2 separate regions of the Homo sapiens genome follow, and region 2 is linked to region 1. Evidence: promoter capture Hi-C in 16 types of primary human blood cells and fetal thymus (Javierre and others, 2016). All regions are on one chromosome and are shown on one strand. The core of a region is centred on a gene start or on the middle of the fragment in contact, and the rest is flanking DNA. Distances in the headings are between cores, read along the strand shown.

What was found. Contacts are between HindIII fragments. The CHiCAGO score rates a contact against its expected background, and 5 or more counts as called.
Region 2: a fragment that was not itself captured here is called in contact with the fragment with the promoter of HAS1 in region 1 in 1 of 17 cell types (monocytes); the score reaches 6.5 in monocytes.

What each region holds. Positions count from the first base shown.
Region 1 is chr19:51,721,869-51,725,954 of GRCh38, reverse strand. HAS1 (hyaluronan synthase 1) reads left to right here and starts at 1,964. Exons shown (of 5, transcript NM_001297436.2): 1 at 1,964-2,030. The coding sequence starts at 2,022. The HindIII fragment of the contact is 33,518 bases long and covers 1-4,086 here.
Region 2 is chr19:51,511,965-51,515,706 of GRCh38, reverse strand. No RefSeq gene overlaps it. Among named protein-coding and RNA genes, the nearest start is that of SIGLEC12, 12 kb to the right of the region's middle. The HindIII fragment of the contact is 2,005 bases long and covers 1,238-3,242 here.

The DNA.
Region 1 (4,086 bases), core at 715-3,214:
AGAGATAGAGCCTTACAAAGAGATAGGTGCGGTGGCTCACGCCTGTAATCCCAACACTTTGGAAGGCCAAGGCAGATGGATCACTTGAGGTCAGGAGTTGGAGACCAGCCTGGCCTACATAGTGAAACCCCATCTCTACTAAAAATACAAAAAATTAGCCAGGTGTGGTGGTGGGCGCTTGTAGTTCCAGCTACTCGGGAGGCTAAGGCAGGAGAATCGCTTGAACCCGGGAGGCGGAGGTTGCAGTGAGCCGAGCTCACGCCACTGCACTCCAGCCTAGGTGAGAGAGTGAGACTCCGTCTCAAAAAAAAAAAAAAAAAAAGAGAGAGATGGGGATGCAGAGAGACGGAAGGAGGATAGAGACAGAGCTAGAGAGGGAGGGAGATAGAGGGAAAAAGAGACAGAGAGAAAGAGACACACACACATGGACACACAGTGAGAAAGTCAGGGAGAGGCACTCAGAAAGAAAGAGAGCCACACAAGAAGAAAGTCAGGGAGACTTCAGAAATGCAAAGGGACAGACACTCCCAGGTAAAAGCAGAGAGAGAATGGCTGTGAGGGGGGATGAGGAGGAGAAACAGACAGGAATACACAGAGGCAGAGACCCAAATAGAGGGACCGAGAAACAGAGATGGGGTGACAGATACAAAATGACAGAGATTTGGGGAGGGACAGACGAGGAGAGAGAAGCACGGGGGAATTTCTCTCTGCTGCTCCATGTCTTTCAGCCTGTCCTGGAGCTGGCCCGTGCCAGACACCAAAGGTCGTTGGAGTCACAGGCAGGGAGAAAAGAACGAGGCAGCTACCGAGGCAGCTACCAAGGCCGAAAGTGAGACATCAATAGTTCACAGTAAGAGGAGCAGAGAGAAGAACAGAATTAGATACAGATAGTTTTTTTAAAAAATTCATGGAAAGAAGGGCATGTAAACAGACATTTATCACAGATCTGGTCCTGAGGGGCTGGGGTTCGGGCACCCCAGGTCCCGCATCTCTTTTCACCCTTCCTCTGACTCAGTTTCCCTGATGGGTGACAGCACTGACAGACCCCGGCTGGCTCCCCAGGGTCAGCTGACCGACAACTCTCTGTGTTCATCCCTGAGTCCCTGGGGATACAAATCCCAGCGCCCCAGCTCTCCACCCCAGACCCTGGTGCACACACGCAGACCCACGTCAGTTAGGCGCTGAATGGACAGATGTTCACTCACAGCTCCGGTTCCAGGCAGCCGTGCCTCGGGCCAGCGTACACACAGGCACACCCACAGCACGCACGTGTGTGAGTTTCGTTCCATCTGCCAGTTGCTGAGACATGTCCCTGGGGGGCCCAACCCAGAGATGGATTCTGGGGACAGGAGAGGCGGCTGTGGGGAGAAGCAGGGCGGGGGTGACTGGGGAAGGTGAGAAGGGGGAGGTGGGGAGAGCTTTAAAGCAAGAAGAGAAAGAAATGAGGGTGAGAGGAGGCAAGAGAAGTGGAGAGGAAGAAAGGGATGGAGAGAAAGACAGAAACTTGGAGAAATGTGGTAATGGGGAGAGAGATGAGGGTACCAACAAAGAGATGAGGAGAAATAGTGGGTTAGGGAGAAAGAAAGGGATGGAGGGAAATACAGGGATAGGGGATGGGGGGATGAGGGGAACCCCCAAAATGCAAGTGAGGTGGAAGAGAAAAATCAGGGGAGACAAGGGACGAGAGGGGGGAGGAAGAGAGAAGAAGACATAGAGGAGGGAGGGAGAGGAGGGGGAGTGATGGCAGAGAGGACTAGAGGAGGGGCGCGGGTAGACATGGGGGCCTGGGAAGGGAGGCCCGTCTGGCTGAGGGGGGTGGGAGTAATAGCGGGAAGCGGGTGGAGCTGCCCGGCTGGGCCGTGACCTCAGAGCCCCTGGCCCAGCTTAGCCTGACTGACGTCAGCGCTCGCTCCCGCCCCCGCCTGCGCTGGTCTTCAAATGACCCCCCTCCAGCTCTCTGGCCACAGAGAGGCTGGGAGAGCAAGCCGGAGAGAAGAGAGAGCCCGGCCAGACCCACTGCGATGAGACAGGTGTGTGTGTGTGTGTGTGTGTGTGTGTGTGTGTGTGTGTATACAGCCATGTGGGGAAAACTACTGCCATATGTGTGACCACGTGTGTTGGGGAACTGTGTGTGCATGATTTCATGTGTGTATCCATGTGCCTGACAGTGACCATATGTGTGTAGGGGACAGTGAGCATGTGAGGCTGAGTGTGCAGGTCTGTGTATACATTGCCCTGTGTGAGCGGCCATCCCAAGTACATGTAGGTGAGACGTGCCATGTCCGTATTTCTGTATCTGCGTATCTTGCTACAAACTTGTGTATGTCTATGTTCCCTGGGAGGCAGAGAGAAAGAGGGAGTGCGACAGTGAGCGAATGAAAGAGACTGAGTGAGAAAGAGAGTTGGATTTGCCTGTGGCACATGGGAATGGATTTCTGTTTCATGCGTTCAATAGCTATTAAGTTGAACCAAATGAAATCGCCGATACTGAGCCACTCTAAACTTGGAAGAATAGCAATTTCATCTGGTTCAGTATCAGCTTGACAGTCACCTACTATTTCTCTTGAAATCTTCCCTGTGCATCCCATTGCCCCAGACTCTCAGTTGGGGCTCTGTGTGTTTGTGGCCACGTGGACATCCTTTGCTGGTGTTGCTTTTTCCTGCTGAGGGGTGTGTGTCTGCAGGTTCACCTGTGTGGCCGTCGGTGGGGGTCACGGGATCGCTGTGTTTGGCCTGAGTGGGTGTCTCGGGTCATCCTGTAGAACACGAGTAATTTCATTCTGTGTGTCACTCATCATGTGTGAGTTCACGTGTGGGGGAGTGTGTCTACACGTGTGTTCATCTGTGTTTCTGGAATCAACTCTCTGGATCCCCAGCATGAATTGAGCCATCCCTAGGAACTCAGGCAAGGCCAGGTTTGAAGCAAAGGAAGAGAGAAGGGGGATTCGAGAAGAAAGAATAATGTTTAATGTTGAGAGTTTAAAAGCTGTACCTCAGTTTTGTCCTCTAGAAATGTAACGAAAACCACAATATCTAATTTAAAATTTTCTTGTGGCCACATTTGAAAAAGTAAAAACAAACAGGTGAAATTAATTTTAATAATATATTTTTATTTAACCCAGTGTGTCAGGGGCCAGCACATTTTTTTAAATAAAGGGCCCAATATTAAATATTTGAGGCTTTTGGGGGCCATCTGGTCTCTTTTGAAAGTACTCAACTTCGATGTGGTAAATGTAGAATCAGCCACAGATGATGTATAAACAAATGAATGTGGTTGTATGCAAATAAAACTTCCTTTAAGGACACTGAAATTTGAATTTCATATTTTTCATGCTCCACAAACTATTATTCTTCTTTTGGCTTTCAAAAACCATCTAAAAACACACACACAAATTCTTAGCCTGCAGGCTGCAGCAGGTCTTAGCATGCCGACCCCTGCTACATATAAGATATGATCATTTCAATATGTAATCAATACATAAATGTTAATGAGCTATTTTACTTTCTTTTCCCCAGACTTGGCCTTCAAAATCCAGTGTGTTCATAGCACTTCTCACTTAGATGCTACCTTTTCACTGGAAATACCTAATCTGTGTTTAGATTTTATAAGATTTACAATTATAAAAGGGGCATCGTAGATGCAACTTGTTCCAGACATATTTAAAATCTTTCCAATAACCGAATCAAGTAAGAGTTTTTAAATTTAAATGAATTAAAATTAAATAAAATTTAAAACTCAGTTCCTCGGTGATACTGGCTGCATTTCAAGTACTCGGTAGACACATGTGGCTGCTGACACCTGTGTTGGACACAAAGATCTACATCTTAACGACGCATTTAAATAACCCACAGTAAGCCTTGAGGCAGGAACTGGTGGCATAGGAGGCAGTTTAGCGTAGAGGGGACGCCAGAGCCAGACTGCCTGAGTTTTACTTCTGACTCTGCTTATTACCTGAGTGACCTTGGGTAAAAGTATTTGCCTCTCAGTGTCTCAGTTTCCTCATCTGTAACAGAAGACAGTGAAGGTACCTGCCTTATAAGATTGTTGTAGAGACCGGGTGCAGTAGCTCACGCCTATAATCCCAG
Region 2 (3,742 bases), core at 991-3,490, 210 kb after region 1:
TGGGCAACAGTGAGACTCCATCTTAAAAAAAATTGTCATCATTATCATCATAACACAAATAAGAAATTATTTAAAACTGGATACTGAAAATACTATAAAACTTTTAGAGTAAAACTAAAGCATTTATTAGAGGAACTATATATAACCTTAAATGTATATGCTAGGGTGGGAAAAGCTAAAATTTAATAAACTAAGCTTTAATTTCAAGAACTTAGAAAAAGAACAACAAAACCAAAAGGAATTGGAGAGAAGGAAATATCAAATGATAAGAGCACATAGCATAGAAAACATATTCAGTAGAAAGGAACAACATCACGAACAGCTAGTTTTTGATACAAATAATAAAATGGGCAAACCTCAGTTGCAATTAGTCCAGAAATATAGAAGGCAAAAATAACTAGTATGCAGGAATATAAGGGAGAAAACATTACTTAATCTAATGCAAAATAAGCAGAAAGTAGTAAGCTGTATGAAAAGTTTTGAATACTTATAGAAAATGGACAAATTTCTGGGAAAAAATGTGTTACCTAACGCTGTAGGCATGGTTCAGTTTGTATCTGTCCTTCTGACCTCTCAGTCTCAAAATGAAAAGCCAAATGTATTTATGAAATTCTGCCACTAGGGGGAGTTCCTTCAGTCCCGCTCTCAGGTTCACTGTGGTTGAGTTTGTCATGATGCAAAAGTCCACTCCTTGCTGTGCCAGTTGATTGAGCAGAACCACTTGAAAACCAAGATGAAATGTTTTCCTCCTCAAGCAATGGCCATAAAGAACTGCCCATGAGGTCACACATGTGATTTCATGAAAAAATAAGGCAATATCCCAGGAGGAGTTGTAGGAATCTGGGTCACCTGCTCATGTCACTTGGTTGTGATTTCTGGACTTCTTGAAGCCCATCTTGAAGTCAGTTATATCATATCCAAATTCACTTCATAATGGATTATTGCTTCACATGCCCAACCTTTTAGCTTGATGGGTCACAGAGCACCTACTTCATGATGGGCAGTTTGTATTATATATTCGCTTCATATCCCATAGTAAGGGTATCAGTCTCTACCAAGGCCTGGTAATAAGTCAGAAGCTCTTTCTCAAGAGATCCATCATGTTCTCAAAAACAGAGCATGGCTTTGCAACAAAAGTCCTAGGGGTCTTCACTCTGGGGCACACCGACATTCTTAATTATTCCAGATAATTCAAGTATAATTTAATCTTGAGTTATAAACCTCAAGTTGTAAAGCTTCTTATACTACAGCCTGGACCTGCTGCAGAGCCTTTCCTTGAACTGAGAACAACTCCAAACTGGAAGTCTTAAGATTTACGTAGTAAGTGGGTTAGAGCATCCAATCATAGTTGTACATTTCCTCCAAAATCCAAAGGTGACTATCAAGAATTGAGCTTCTTTGGTAGGGGTAGGATGACCTCCCATTTTATCTCTGATCCTCTTTAAAGCTAATGTGCTCAACTTATCTCTAGGGATTAAGTAATGACACATTGCCTTTGACAATTCCATCATCCTGATTGAAAGCAGTGTGATTATATCCGTTGCAGTATTTCTTTCTGTCATCCCCAATAAACTGATCATAAATCTTAATCCTGTGTACAAAGCACCTTCACAGCAACACCTAGATTAACGTTTCATTGAATGTTCTGGGGACTATAACCTAGAAACATTGGCACATTAAACTGACCATCATAAGTATGTCAATATCAGAAAATATATCTTTTACCAAACAAAGTGTTAATGGAGATAAAAGGGCCAATTTTTTAAGGATTAAATATTCAATATACTAGGAAGATACATTAGAAATTTACCTGCACATGATAAAATAGCTTCAGAATATGTAAGGCAAAAATAGGCAAAGAATGGCTTCAGAATATATAAGGTGAAAAAAAATAGGCTGAACCAGGTTAGTCTTCACAGAGCTTTTCATGGACACTTGTGCTGTCTTTACCAGTATACTACTTGAGGGGTAAGAGCAGAGGAGATGAGGGTACAGGTTGAACTTTTGTCATTTTTTATTTTCCAACATTTTTAACTCTCTAAACCTTTGGGTTATTTTTTCTCCATTATGCCAAGAAAGTTCTGACATCATCCTCGTTAAATTTGGGTCATTGTTGAGTCCATTTTCATTGGAATATAGTGATAATATTGTTTCAATCAAACATAAAGCAAATTCCTTCATCCACCTGAGAGCTTCTTGAGCCAAAACATTGTATCTGTAATCTTTTGTTAGTACACCCGTATCAATATATTTGGCTAAGCCAGTGTAATATTTTATCTTTGTTGGTCTAAGATTCCTAGTGTCCACTTTAACATATATTTCTCAGGTGTCTGCTGATATAAATCAGAGAATCCAATAATTCCTTTAGAATGTAAGATCTTCTCAAGGGTCGGGCATTGCATTTACCCCATGGAAGAGACTTGCATTTTATTCTTGGTCTGGAATGAATAGTGATTGGGATGAGTTTTGAAGAGACTCAGCACCTTCCTGTGCTTGGGCAATCTCTCCAAGCAGAATTATTAGAGTCTTCCAGTAAGGAAAGACTAATCTCTCCAGACCAAGGAAATCAGGCTATATTCTGGTATCAAGAGAGTTTCAAAAAGTCTTGGGGCAAGGGGGTTGAAGATTTTCGACTTTATCCAAAGACCATGCATAGGGGTCATCCACATGTTCTTGGGTACTTGATCTTCATGCAAGACCCCTTTCCAAGCCCAAGCCCCTCAGTCCTTTCCAATAACTGCCCTAAATTTCCTATAAGAAGCGCAGACAAATCTTTAAATTCAAATTATGTCGTAATTCTTCAATAAATACAATTAAATTTGGGGTCTGATTTTTTTTTTTTTGCAAGATTGTCCCCATAGTCAAATGACATGAAATTGTTTGAAGTCATAAGGCATTTCTGTAGTTTACAACCATAACTTGACCTACAAGGTAAGACCTGAGCTTGGCACTTGCCCTTTGCAGGTTTTCCAGCAGAGTTAGGAGCAGAGAGTTTACCACACAGTCTTTGTGGTCATTAATGCTCACACAGCAGTGAATAGCATCGCCATTCGATCCTTCAAGGCATTTGCTTAATAGCCACTCAATCATAGGTAATTAATTAATCATGATGGCACTGTATGTGGAATTCTACGAAACATTTAAAGGAGAAATAATATCAAACTTTCCCAGACTCCCTCAGTAAATAGAGAAGGAGAAAACACTCATTTCATGAGGCAAAATTCAAACCTGATACCAAAGCTTCATGAGGACGTTACAAGAAAAGAAAACTGCAGATCACTGCACCTCATGAACATAGAAAAGTCTTCATTTAAATATAAGTAAATCCAATCCAACAAATAAAATTGACGTAATACATGATGACCAAGTGGGGTTTCACATCCAAAAATAAATGTAATTCACCACGCTACCAGAATAAAAGAGAAACATCAAATGTGCCTCTTGATTACTCCAGAAATAACGCTGGGCAGAATTTAAAACACATTTATAATTTAAAACAATCTCAACAAATTAGGACTAGAAGAGAAAAACTTCGATTTGATTAAGAGCATCTAAAAACCTGCAATTAGCATCATACGTAATAAAGAAATATTGAACACTTTTTCCCCTAAGATTGGGAGAAAGGAAGGAATATCTGCCCTATTATTTCTATTCGACATTGTAGTATAGGTCCTAGCCAGTGAAATTAACTAAGAAATAAAAAATACAAGGCCAGGCACGGTGGCTCCTGCCTGTAATCCCA